5 separate regions of the Homo sapiens genome follow, and all the other regions are linked to region 2. Evidence: promoter capture Hi-C in 16 types of primary human blood cells and fetal thymus (Javierre and others, 2016). All regions are on one chromosome and are shown on one strand. Each heading gives the region's core, a stretch centred on a gene start or on the middle of the fragment in contact. The rest is flanking DNA. Distances are from core to core; before and after follow the strand shown.

Evidence for each region. Contacts are between HindIII fragments. The CHiCAGO score rates a contact against its expected background, and 5 or more counts as called.
Region 1: a fragment that was not itself captured here is called in contact with the fragment with the promoter of IKZF2 in region 2 in 2 of 17 cell types (total B cells and M0 macrophages); the score reaches 5.6 in total B cells.
Region 3: a fragment that was not itself captured here is called in contact with the fragment with the promoter of IKZF2 in region 2 in 1 of 17 cell types (erythroblasts); the score reaches 5.1 in erythroblasts.
Region 4: a fragment that was not itself captured here is called in contact with the fragment with the promoter of IKZF2 in region 2 in 2 of 17 cell types (erythroblasts and naive B cells); the score reaches 6.2 in erythroblasts.
Region 5: a fragment that was not itself captured here is called in contact with the fragment with the promoter of IKZF2 in region 2 in 7 of 17 cell types (total B cells, M0 macrophages, erythroblasts and 4 more); the score reaches 10.4 in total B cells.

The regions. Positions count from the first base shown.
Region 1 is chr2:212,835,173-212,837,872 of GRCh38, forward strand. No RefSeq gene overlaps it. Among named protein-coding and RNA genes, the nearest start is that of LINC01878, 41 kb to the left of the region's middle. The HindIII fragment of the contact is 5,538 bases long and covers 1-2,700 here.
Region 2 is chr2:213,150,162-213,152,861 of GRCh38, forward strand. IKZF2 (IKAROS family zinc finger 2) reads right to left here and starts at 1,451. Exons shown (of 9, transcript NM_001387220.1): 1 at 1,252-1,451; 2 at 1-86. RefSeq lists silencers at 1,542-1,601, 1,682-2,041. The HindIII fragment of the contact is 7,158 bases long and covers 1-2,700 here.
Region 3 is chr2:212,664,412-212,667,111 of GRCh38, forward strand. No RefSeq gene overlaps it. Among named protein-coding and RNA genes, the nearest start is that of ERBB4, 130 kb to the left of the region's middle. The HindIII fragment of the contact is 4,092 bases long and covers 1-2,700 here.
Region 4 is chr2:212,742,984-212,745,683 of GRCh38, forward strand. No RefSeq gene overlaps it. Among named protein-coding and RNA genes, the nearest start is that of LINC01878, 51 kb to the right of the region's middle. The HindIII fragment of the contact is 2,067 bases long and covers 383-2,449 here.
Region 5 is chr2:212,816,133-212,818,832 of GRCh38, forward strand. LINC01878 (long intergenic non-protein coding RNA 1878) reads left to right here. Exons shown (of 5, transcript NR_131941.1): 3 at 791-875; 4 at 1,259-1,356. Among named protein-coding and RNA genes, the nearest start is that of LINC01878, 22 kb to the left of the region's middle. The HindIII fragment of the contact is 874 bases long and covers 962-1,835 here.

The DNA of each region.
Region 1 (2,700 bases), core at 163-2,662, 320 kb before region 2:
CAAGGAATATAACTGCTGGATCATGTGGTAAGAGTATGTTTAGTTTTGTAAGAAGCTGCCAGCCTGTCTTTCAATGTGGCTATACCATATTGCATTCCCATCCACATCCTTGGAATCATTTGCTGTTATCAGTGTTTTGGAGTTTTTCTGAAAAGTATAAGGTAGTGTCTAGATTTATGTATTTATTTTTGCATGCAGATTATTTTTGCATGCAGATGTCCAGTTGCTTCAGCACTGTTTGTTGAAAAGACTGTCTTTTCTCCATTATGTTGCCTTTGCTCCTTTGTCAAAGATCAGTTGACTATATTTGTGGCTATCTATTTCTGTGTTCACTATTCCGTTCTATTGACCTGTCTGTTCTTTTGCCAATACTGCACTATCTTGATTACTGGAAGTTTATAGTAAGGCATGAAGTCAAGTAGTGTCAGTACTCTGACTTAGTTTTCCTTCAATATTGTGTTGGCTACTCTGGGTCTTTTGCCTCCCCATGTAAATGTTAGTATCAATCTGTCAATGTTCACAGAGAGTTTGCTGCAAGTTCCCTTGAGATTACATTGAATCTATAGATGAAGTTAGGAAGAACTAACATATTGACAATATTGTCTTTGAGATCTCTCAAGATTTCTTCTTTGATCCAAGTGTTATTTACAAGTGTGTTGTTTAATCTCCCAGTACTTGGGGATCTTCAAACTACCTTTCTGTTACTGGTATCTAGTTTAATTTTACTGAGGGATTTGAGAGCAGACATTGTATGATTTTTATTTTTAAATTTGTTGAGGTGTGTTTTATGGCCAAGAATGTGGTCTGTCTTGGTGAATGTTCCATGTGAGCTTGAGAAGAATGTGTCGTCTGCTGTTGTTGGATGAAGTATTTTATAGATGCCATTTATATCCAGTTGATTGATAGTGCTGTTGAGTTCAACTATGTCTTTACTGATTTTCTGGCTGCTGAATCTGTCCATTACTGATAAGTGTTGAAGTTTCCAACTATAATAGTGTATTCCTCTATTTCTCCTTGGAGTTTTATAAGTTTGTGCCTCGTGTATTTTAATGCTCTGTTGTTCGGTGCATACGCTTTAAGGATTGTTCTGTCTTCTTGAAGAATTGACTCCTTTTATCATTATGTAAAGTCCGTCTTTATCTGTGATAACATTCCTTGCTTTGAAGTCTGCTGTATCTAAAATTAATGTAGCTACTGAGTTTTCTTTTGATTCGAGTTATTATATCTTTCTCCATCCCTTTATGTTTAATCTTGATATGTCTTTATATTTAAAGTGCGTTTCTTGTAGACAATATATAGTTGGGTCTTTTGATCCACTCTGACAATCTCTTTTTGTGTTAATGACAATTGATGTTTAATTATTGATATTGTTGGATTAATATCTTCCATATTACTGCATTCTATTCATTGTTTTTTATTCTTCCACTCTTCTGTGGTTTAACTGAGCATTTTGTGTGGTTCCATTTTTTTTCTCCTTAGCATATCACCTATAGTATACTTATTTATTTACTTACTTTTTTTTAGTGGTTGCTCTGGCATTTTCAATATACATTTGCATCTAATCCAAATCTACTTTTGAATAACACTATACTGCCTCATGGATAGTGCAAGGTTATCCATAAGTTACAATCACTAAATACATTATTGCCATTATTTTTATTTATTTATTTATTTATTTGAGACGGAGTCTCACTCTGTAGCCCAGGCTGGAGTGCAGTGGTGCGATCTCAGCTCACTGCAACCTCTGCCTCCTGGGTTCACGCCATTCTTCTGCCTCAGCCTCCTGAGTAGCTGGGATTACAGGCGCCCGCCACCACGCCCCACTAATTTTTTGTATTTTTAGTAGATCTGGGGTTTCACTGTGTTAGCCAGGATGGTCTCAATCTCCTGACCTCGTGATCCGCCCACCTTGGCCTCCCAAAGTGCTGGGATTACAGGCGTGAGCCACTGTGCCCAGCCTGCTATTATTATTTTTAACAAACTGTTGTATATTCAACCAATTAAGTAGAGAAAAATAAGTTCTTTTTTGTTTACCTTCACTTATTCCTTCTCTGATGCTCTTCTTTATGTGAAGCAAAATTTCTGACCTATATTATTATCCTCTCTGAAAAACTTCTTTTAACATTTTTTGCAAGGCAGGTTTACTGGCAACAAATTTTCTCCTATTTTTGTTTGTTTGGGAAGGTCTTAATAGGCATACCTCAGAGATACTGTGGGTTTGGTTCCAGACCACCACAATAAAGCGAATGTCTCAAAGCAAGTCATGGATTTTTTGGTTTCTCAGTGCATACAAAAGTTAGATTTACACGCTACTATAGTCCAGTAAGTGTGCAACAGAAGTAAGTCTAAAGAACCCAATGGACATAAGTTAATTTAAAAATTTTTATTGCCAAAAAATGCTAGCTATCATCCGAGCCTTTAGCAAGTTGTAATCTTTTTGTTGGTGGAAGGTCTTGCCTCCATATTGATGGCTACTGACTGATCAGGGTAGTAGTTGCTGAAGGTTGAGGTGGCTGTGTCAGTTTCTTAAAATATAACGTTGAAGTTGCTGTATCAATTGACTCTTTGTTTCACAAAATATTTATCTGTAGCATGCAGTGCTGTTTGACAGCATTTTACTCACAGTAGAACTTCTTTCAAAATTGAATCAATACTCTCAGACCCTGCATACTGCTTTATAAACTAAGTTTATGTAAAATT
Region 2 (2,700 bases), core at 201-2,700:
ATTAAAAAAGATTCATCACCATTTCCAGCTCTGTCGGGAGATCTCAGCTTCTTCTAACCCCTCAAAGAGGAGGTGACAATGTCGGGCTGAAGATAAACGGAGGGAGAAAGAAAGAAGTTTTTTGTGTTTCCCCCTTCTCTCTTTCCCTCCCTTGCCCCCTCCAAGCCAAGCCCCCTGCAGAGTTCAAGGGGAGGAGGAAGGAAAAGCACTTTACAGGTGGGTCATTCCAAGCCCAAATCCAGCAAACAGATCGGCTGATAAACAAAACCAAGAAATGAGAGAGAAGAACACCCCCCTCCTCCTCCTCCTCCTCCTCGTCCTCCTCCTCCTCCTCCTTCCACCCCTCCCCCTCGTCCCTTAGGGATGGTCTAGTAGGAAAAGTCACTCAGGAATGGCACCACGTACTTTCAGGAAAGAGGAAAAAAAAGAGAGAGAGAGAGGTCAGTCAGTGCTATAGCAATGCGATTAACAAGAGAAAAAACTTGATCCACCGGTTCCTTAAGAATCGACCAAAAGCTAAGACAAGAAAACTGAAAGAAAAGGGGGGGGGGGCGGGTAGAGGGGAGGGACAGTCAGGCAGAACCCAGCTAGGAACCCAGGCCAACTTCACAGGACTGTTTTTGGCCCTTGGCAAAAAAGAAAAAAAATAAATAAATCTTAATTCCATCTCTTTCGCCCATACTAGAACCTGTCAAAGTGATTTAACTGCTGCCTGTTTACATGTGTCATACCAGGGTTTTTGGTTTTTTTTTTTTTTTAATTCCAACAGGATCTGGATATTACCTTCTATCTGGACAGCTTCAATTTATTCCAGCCTACCCAATCTTTCTTCTTGGAATTCAAGTTAAAACAAAGCAAAACAAGTCCAAATTCATGACAGCTATAGAGATGAGAACTGATTAATCGATTAACATCCCAGAAACAGATTACAAGGAGGGGACGATAAATTAAGGCAGAGGACATCATCTTCAACCCGATTCCCTGAGCGTCCTTTACAAAAATCATTACCCTAATCAGAACCACAATCCATCCCTCCCAGAGAAAAATACCTATATTATTATTATTATTACTGGTTAACAGCAACAAGTCATTTGATCACATCACAGTGCAAAACGAGATGCTATATAATTACACTTAACTTTGAAAACACTCCCCCCTTTGCAAATCATACACATATTTATATATAATCTATGAATCAGAAGACAAAACAAGAGCTGTTCTTCACCACGCAAAAGCCAAGCGGAGATTTACCTCAGCAGTGCATGCAGTAAAATAATCCCATCACCCTTTTGTTTGTGTTTACTGTTAATGTGTCCTCTGTCTTTCTTTCTTTCCTGTGCCTAACGTGTGTTTGTGCACTGCAGTTGGTGGTGGAAACTAAGGCAGTGGATCTGTAGCTAAGGGTAATCCTGTTTTTACTTCCTCCATCTTCAGCGAGGAGCAGGGTTAGCCCGGGACAGCTGGTCAAACCCCGAGAAACCGATCCGGTGGAGCCCGAGCACATCTCCCCCGCCGGCCGGGCTCGCGCAGACGCCCGCGGGCGGAGGGCGGGCTGGCGGCGGCTGCGGCGGCGGCGGCGGCGGGCGGCTGGCGGCGGGCAGCGGAGCCCCGGGCGCGGGCGAGCGGACGTGCGTGCGCGCGCGTGCGTGTGTGCGGGGCCCGAGCGCCTGTGCGTGTGTGTATGAGAGCGCGTGTGCGCGCGCGCGCGGGCTGGCGGGCGCGTGTGCGCGTGTCTGCGCGCTAAGCCGCTCGGCGCGCTCGGCAATCGATTACAGGACAAGTGCTGCCCCGGAGGCTCCGCGACGCGCGCACTCCCTCGCGCCCACCCGCGCGCCCGGCCGCGTCGCCCCCAGCCCGTTGGTCCCCGGACTGCGGACCCCGCCCCCGACGGGGGCCAGGTAACCCGCTTCCGAGTGTGCCACGGCGACCCCCATCTCCCCTCCCCGTGTCATAATAAATCTCACGTTTTCTGCCGGCTGGAGGCTTGGAGCGGTGAGGTGACGTTCATTTCGGCCGCGTGAAGTTTTCTTTCAAACTGGGATTGGTGGGGAGGCCGGGGGAAGGGAGCGGGGCGGCGATCTTGGCGCCCTGCGCGGAGTCCGGGAGCCGCGTCCCGGCCGAGTCGGGGAGTGTGCGTGGAGCCTCCCACCTACTGGTCTCCGCCGGCAACTCTGCGGCCCCATTTCGGAAAGCGCACCGCATTGACCGGGACCTGAAGCGGGATAAGAGGGGTCCTGGGGAATAGACTGAGAAAGACATTCATGTCTGAGATGAAGCTCAACTATTACTATTTTGAAAGTGCTTTAACAGTGCAAGTTTAAAAACTAAAGTGTTGACTTGCTTTTTCTCCCCCGGGGCATGTGCCACGTCTTCCAAAGTCAAAGGAACGGATGAGTACAAAAAGTTGCTACCCTTGAAGTGTTACCTATCACTATCAACCACAGCTTGTTTATTTGGAAAGAACTTAAGTGAACCGTCAAGAGAAAAACAAATGCATATTCTTTCTACAAATAGTAGCATTTAGTATCTTTCCTGACCACATTTGCGAAAAGAGGGAATAGAGACTTCTATAATTAAAGGGAAAAGGAAAATGAAAGGAGCTGAAAATAGTGAACTGTGTAGTCTGGATGGCTGAAATTTGAAAACACATGAAATTATCAGGACTGCCAAACGGTGTTCCTGAGAAACCATATCACAGAT
Region 3 (2,700 bases), core at 45-2,544, 490 kb before region 2:
TTTAATTCAGTTTTTTTTCTCCACTGGTTTTTGTTCTGTACTATCTATATTTTTATGAACTTCTGCTATATGAAATAATTTATATCTGAATTATTGGCAAGTTCATAGTGAACATTTTCTGCATTTATACCTTTTTCCCTTGAATACTGAACAATAAATTAGCTACCTCAATTAGAACAACTATGTCAACATACACACACATGCACACACACACATACACACAAATATACACACACAAATACACACACATACACTCATGTTCTAGATTGGATCACTTAGTGGCATAACCCATTAGAAATTATGGAATGCTTTTTTCCCGATAGTTAACATTTCCAAATAATTCTAGGTAAAATTCAATGAAGGTAAAAATCATGCGACTAAATGCCACAAGTAAATTGCTAGGAAAAAGGGAATTACTTCTGAGTTTAAAAATATATATTTTCAACAACTGTTAAAAATAAAAGCTAACTTGTGAATTCAAATGTCAAAGCTCCAAGAATGATGCTGGCAGAGGGAACAGTAGCACTATTTTCATTACTGTCTATAGCTTTCCTAGCACTCAAAGAAGAAATAAAGTTTAGATACCTCCATTTTATGTAAGATTTAAAAATGTATTGCCCTTTTTCACATTAATTTATACCTACCAGTTAGAGTTAAAGCATGTCAGTAGTGCTTCAGAAAAATCACATTTCTTTTCATTAAATTTTCATCTTATTGTAAACAGAAATCACTCCAAAAACAAACAATCCAAACACCTTCTACATATTCATTCTTAGACCAGAATCCTTTTGAAACTGAGCTATAAGAAAACCTGAATAAACATTCTGAGAGAATTAAATTAGCCAGTCATACTTTCTAGTACAAAGTTTCTATTCTATAAGGCTGACATGCAGATGGTACTCTCTTCTGTTTTCTTAAAGGTTAGTGATCTAGGAATAATTCTTTTAGAGAAGTATACATAGTCAAATATTTGGGGGATACTCAGTACTCCTGTAATAAGCCTTGCTAACAAAAAAAACAGGAAACAGAAAGGAACATAAGTCCTACCATAGGGATTTAAATATTATTAACTTGATAGTGCTTTTCCATAAGTGTGCCTCCATATGAGTACTTGAGATAATATATAGGCATTGCCTGTCACCTAATAATCAATTATTAAATGACAGCTATTATTTATTATCCTTATCATTTGCTGAGTATATATAATGTGCTACTGCACTACAGTATGATGCAAATATTTTACCTTTGTCCTCCCAAACACCCCTGTAGAATGAATATTTTAATGCCCTTTTATACAAAACAAGAAACTGAGGATCAGAGAAACTGCCCAACAGTATATATAATGTGCTACTGCACTACAGTATGATGCAAATATTTTACCTTTGTCCTCCCAAACACCCCTGTAGAATGAATATTTTAATGCCCTTTTATACAAAACAAGAAACTGAGGATCAGAGAAACTGCCCAACGCCTCACAGCATAATAGTCCAAGGTTAGATTAAAAACACTAGAACCCAAACACAGAAGAGAGTTTAGTGCTTTCCTGATATGCTTCCGTGATAAACTAAATATTAAAATAATTCCAGGCTTGAAAATAATGGCTAGGCCCACCAGGATCTTATTTTACTCAATACTTTTCCCCCTGAAATATCTAATTCTTTTATTTGGAAGGTGAGATTAAGAGTCTGGACTCTGGATTCAGATGGCTTGAGTCCAAATTCCTGCTGAGCCACTTACTCACTCTGTGACTTGGACAGTAATTAGCCTCTTTGTGCCTTTTTCTCCTGAGGATAATAGTATATCTGTCATAGGACTGCTGTGAAAGTTAACCAAGTTCTTCTGTATGTCCAGTGCTTAGACTAGTACCAGGCACATAGTAAGTCTTGAATAAACATTTGTTATTACTATGAATATTTACATTTTATCTTATGTTTGGGAGCCCCTGCTTTTCCCATGTCTCTAACCAAGGTGCTTGGCCTGCCTATAATCCACCTGGAGTACCACCTCCACATGTAGCCATCTGGCCTCAGGTGATGATCTAGTGGCTGAAGACTTTGAGACACAGACACCCTGGGCCTGTGGAGGAATCATGATCACCATATTTCAGTGGACTAAAAGGGAGAGTAGGAAATGAAACAAGATGGGAGTAGGTTGAGGTCAACACTATCTCAGGATGAAGAGAATCAATAGGTAAGAACATGATAAAGACTTTGAAGACTTATCCTTGAAATGGGGTTGAGAGTCTCACATAACTTTTCATAGTCATTCTGAAATTCAGTTCCTTAGATTCCAAACCCTCAACAGGATTCTAGTTGCTCAAGCTCTGGAACAAATTCTTATAAAAGAATGAAATATCACTGGTGGTGAGGGAAAAGGTCAAAGTAAGCAAGAAGGTTAGAATGAAAGATGCTGGCTTGTTCCATTCATCTGTTTAATCCATCTGGCAGAATTATGAACCTCTATCCTCCATGGCATTTGGATATAAATCAGAAATAGATTAGATTAGAGTGGGAGAAAAGAATGGAAAGAGTAAGAGGCTTCCTTTAGCTTCTCCAAGGTTGAACTGGCAAACAATCTTCGGCATTCAAGTTCATTTTCGAATCAGGTCAATAGACCAGTGAGGGTAGGAGGTGAATGAGCAATTAAATTACATAGCTTCTTCACCAGCTCTCCAGATGAGGCATTCTGACCTCCAACAGT
Region 4 (2,700 bases), core at 166-2,665, 410 kb before region 2:
TTAACAATAACTCTAAGATTTGATAAACTATCCAAGGTAAGACACCTATAATATACTGCCAACAAATTATTAAACAATGTATTAATGAAAACAAATACTGGCTGTGGTTGAGGGTTGTTTTTCTGTACAATGATTATAAACACCATTGTTGTAGTAATTTCACCTCTAGAAATACATGTTACGGAAATCAAGAAGTAGTCAAAGATTTATGAAAAAAATGTTTATTATGGCATTATCTAAAGTAACTGACACATGAAAAAAATCATTGACATTAGAAAATTGTTAGCAAGTAAATCGTGGCAAATAGTTCTACTTTATTCCTTCTGTGTATTTTTCAAGCTTTTTTAAATGAATACCTATTACTTGTATCATCCTAAATAAAAGCTTTAGAAACGCTTTTTAAATGCCTGAAATTAAAGCTGAAATTAAACAGATTCACAATGATACATTTGCCTTGCCAGAAGCTATATTGTATTGAATGTATGCTGAGACATTGTAATTTCCAAAGAGGGCCACTGCAATATAACTCATCTGACAGACTCTTCTTACAATGTGACAGCTAATGGTGAGGTCTAAGTCTCCTCCCTTTGAATTTCAGCTGACATTTGTGAGCACATCCCCCAAAAGAGTATGTTGAAACGATTTCCATGATCAGATCATAAAAATGCCATGCATTTCCATCTTGGTTTTTTGTTTGTTTATTTGTTTTTTGTTTGGTTGGTTGGTTGGTATTTTTGAAACATTATTTCTATGAACACTGCCACCACAGTGTGAAGAGGTCCAATCTTACCCATGTTGGGGTTACCTCATCTTGTTCTGACCAACACTACCAGCTAAAGTCCTCCAAATAGTCAACATCAACCCCCAGAAATGTGAGTAAAGAAGTCTAAAAATTAATCCATTCCCCAGCTATCTAATCTTCTCTGAATTTTTTCATTTGAAGCCCCAAACAAGCCATGCTTATAGGTACAGTTTGATTGTCTCCTACATAATTCATGTTGAAATTTAATTACAATTGTAACAGTACTGAAAGGTAGGGTCTTTAAGAGGTGATTAGGTCATGAGGCCTCTGCCCTCATGAATGGATTAATGCCATTACCTCTAGAGTGGCTTAGTTGTCCTGGGAGTGGGCTCTTGATAAAAGGATGGGTTTGGCCTGATTTCCTCTTTCTGTCTACAATGCTCACTTGCCCTCCTGCCATGTTATGACATAGCAAGAAGGCCCTTACCAGCTATGGGCCCTTGATCTTAGGCTTCCCAGCCTTCAGAATCATGAGCCAAATACACTTCTTTTAAAAAAAAAATTTATCCAGTTTGTCATATTCTATTATGGCAGCACAGGACCAATTAAGACACTCGCTGTACCCTTTCTCAATTTCTGAAACACATAATCTGTGATCATAAAATGATTATTGTTTATACCACTAAGATGAGGTGGTTTGTTTTACATCAATAAATATTTGGAACACATGCCTCTCCAAGAGAGAAATAGTCACTTTCCACCAGAAGAGAAGAAATAAAAAATCAATAAGACAATCAACTGTCCCACTAACAAAGAGAGCAAATAAAAACTTTGCAAAAATAATTGAGTTAATAAAAATAAAACTGTGTTAAAAGAGAATTGAATCATCTTGCCTTAAATGCTTAGAACCAAAACTGAATTTTTAGAAAATATTGAATATGTAGCAAATTCCTTACTGCAAAAGGGAAATCACCCAATTTCACTCTAATGGTTGAAAACCTTGATGTCAGCCTCAGTTATCCAAAGCAAAGACTAACAAAATAGGAGAAAGTGGAAAAGATACATTTTTACTTTGAGAATATGTATAGCAGTACAAAAGAAATTGCTACAATGGAATAAAACAAAAATTTCTGAGGCTGGAAACCAATTTTAAAAAGGAAAACAAAACACTTTTGAATATAACTTTAAGCTACATTTCTGATGTCACCAGAGTCACAAGGTGGATAAAATGCAACTATTTTTAGTACTACTGTAGTAAGGAATTGTTTTAACTAATAACTTAGCATCCATCAGATTAATACAGAACAATCATATCCTTTGCTATGCATGTGTGCCATTTTATACTGTCTGATATGATCTGAGTGTAATTTACTTGTTCCTTTGGGTTTGTGGTTGTTGTCACATCTAGACACATAAACATCATAGGCAGTAGATGAGACTAATTAAATAATTATTTTCTGCATAGAGTTATAAGCTAAAAAGGTAATTAAATCATTCATTCACACAGTAGGGTAAGTATTTACTAAAGAGTAAATATGGGGTGCTAAGACACATCTAACAAAGCCTTAGGTTAGGAGTAGGAGGGAAAGGTTAAAGTTAGGTTCCCAAAAAAGGTGATGTCTCAACTGGCTCCTGAACAGCAAATAAAACTGCATCAGATAGAGACAAGTGGTAAGATGTTCTAGGCAGAGTTGCAACCTACACAAAAGCTTAGAGGAGAAGAAGAGTATGACATATTTAGGGAGCTCCAAGTAATTCAGTTTGAATAGAGCTGAGGCTATTAGGTGGAGAGTGGCAGTAGATGAGAGTAAAGAGACTAAATAGGGAAGTAGGGACAGAATGTGATGTACCCCACACATGATTTTCTATTCAGGTTTCATGCTATGACTTTGAAGTGTTTTGCATAAGAGAGTGTTATGATGAGACTTCTTTCTGTAAAGATCTCTCTCAATGGAAGC
Region 5 (2,700 bases), core at 149-2,648, 330 kb before region 2:
AAATCCATAAAGTAGTAAAAGGTAGTTTTGATTATTAGTAACAAACTTGCCATTTAAAAATACTGTTGTATATTGTATTAATACCTTTTGTGCACCTTTTCAGGTTTTCTTAGTTGTATCTGTCCTGTTCCAGACACCAACTTGACCACCTGATCTGTGAGGGCTTAGGTGCAGCATGACAGCACTTCACCCCAAGAATCTACCTCTCATTTCCCACTTGGGGCTATTCTGTTGACACCTCAGCTTGGGACCAGGAATAAAATCCACTCTCCATTTACACATGTACCACCCAGAGTGTGGGAAAGTTAACACCCTCTATCAGTTTGTTAAGGCTGCCGTAACAAAAGACCACAGGCTGGGTGGCTTCACTATCAGAAATGTATTTTCTCACAGTTTTGGAGGCGAGAAGTCCAAGATTAAGGTGTCAGCAGGTTTGGTTTCTTCTGAGGCTTCTCTCCTTAGTTTGCAGATGGCCACCTGGTCTTTCCCTCTTGCATACAAACCCCATGGTGTCCCTCTGTGTGTCCACATTTCCTCTTTTTATATAGGGACACCAGTCATATTAGATTAGGGCTTACCCTAAGGGCCTCATGTTAACTTAATCACCACTTTAAAGACCTTATATCCAACATAGTTACCCTATAGAGTTACATTCTGAGGTATTGAAAGTTAAGACTTCAACATATAAATCAAGGACGGGGACAGAAACAATTCAGCCCATAACACACTGCATGGGTGATCAATGCGGGAAGGAAATAAGAGTTAATAAATTATCTTTTTATTCCCCTAGATGGATGATCCTGATTGACATTTCATGTGACAGTTCTCAATCTCTTCGTGATTGGGAAAGTGGCACTTATAACCACCATCTACTGGCAAGTCATTGGCTCTCTCTCCTTCTTGGCCTGGTTTCCCTGTCCCTCATTCCTACCTTTTTCCAGGATCACAAAAGCCGATAACAAGCTTGCACTCAGGTTCTGCTTCCTGGAGAGCCCAGGCTGATATCTCACTTCATATTTACAACAACTATGCAAGATATGTCTTCTTGTTGTTGTCTCATAAATAAAGAAACGGGAGAGTCTAACAAGATAACTGACTTGTACAGAGTCACACAGCTAGTAAGTTACAAAGGCAGAACTCTGATTTAAGTCTTCTGCCTCTCATCTTGCATTATTTCCCAGGTACCACAATATCTCCTAGCAATTTTTATTTTCTTAATTTTAATTTTTTTGAAACAGTGTCTTTCTCTGTCACCCAGGTTGGAGTGCAGTGATGCAATCATGGCTCACTTCAGCCTCTACCTCCTGGGATCAAGCAATCCTCCCACCTCAGCCTCTGGAGTCACCGGGACTACAGGCACGTGTAACCATGCCCAGCTAACTTTTAAATTTTTTGTAGAGACAAGGGCTCACTATGTTGCTCAGGCTAATCTCAAACTCTTGAGCTCAAGTGATCCTCCTGCCTTGGCCTTCCAAAGTGCTAGGTTTACAAGCAAGAGCCACTGCGCCTGACTTGTCCTAGCAATTTTTATGTATCATTGTGTGTAATTTAGGCCATTTTCCCAACCCAATTTTAAAACTGTTTAAATGGATTAGAGATAAGACATCCCAAGTACATAATTCATTTCCCTATTACTTAAATGCTCTCCTTTCCCTTCTTCCCTAAACCTATGAGTTTGGTAATCCTTTTACATGGCTTACTTATATCTGAAATTACTTTTATTCAATAGAAAGTATATAAATTAAAATCTCTTTATTGGTATTATCACGATCTATACCTTTCCAAGGAAACCACTTCTCACAGTCAAATTAGGGAGGCTCTTGTATCTTAATCAAAGCTTAACAGTTTAATCGTTCATTAAACATGAGAGTAATTTAGTGTCCTACTATGCAATCATTATTGTTTCCTGAAAATCTGGTATGATGAGGTACAATAAATGCAAACTGAAATATTGCCTGTGGAAAGTTATTTATTATTTCTTCTAGCTAAAAACATTCATAACTGAAATTTATTGGCTCATACTCCCTTCATTATAAATATTTTATGTTCTGCCTCAGGGATCCATGTCTTAGCATTTAAATGTCTCAATCTTGTGTCAGTAACAGGAAGAACAAGTTCACTGGGTGGAATTTTTGCCCTTTGCTTCAGAATGTTACAATAATAATAGGCTATAAATATGTTATAATTATATCTTTGATCATTGCCGTGGTTTTCTAGCCTGAATGAATTAAACTCAAAACTAAAGCTGAGCTGATAGGCAAAAATGACAGCCGTTATCTTATACTAAAATTTTTCTGAAAACCATATTAATATAGTAAAAATATTTAGAGTGGCCAGGATAGTACATCATTTTTCCTATTACTGTACTTTTACTTTAATGTGAAATAGTACCTATACCTATTACCACCCTTACATCTCAATAATGGTTTACATTCATTTAAAGTTTTACTTTTTTAGTTCTTTCATGTTCTAGTCACAATAACAAACTTTGAGGTACTAAGGACTGTTGCTATAATAGTCATCGGTCAAATGAAAAATGTGAGGTTCAGGTAGTTAAAGATGTCTAACTTTTTTAATGTTAATATTTTTAGTTATGAGATACAGTAACATAGTGCAATGGTTTGAATTAGGCTTCTGTTTTCTGCCGACCTCACCTGATGGGGTCAGCTTGGGGTAGGAGGTGCAGTGGAGAAGGAAATG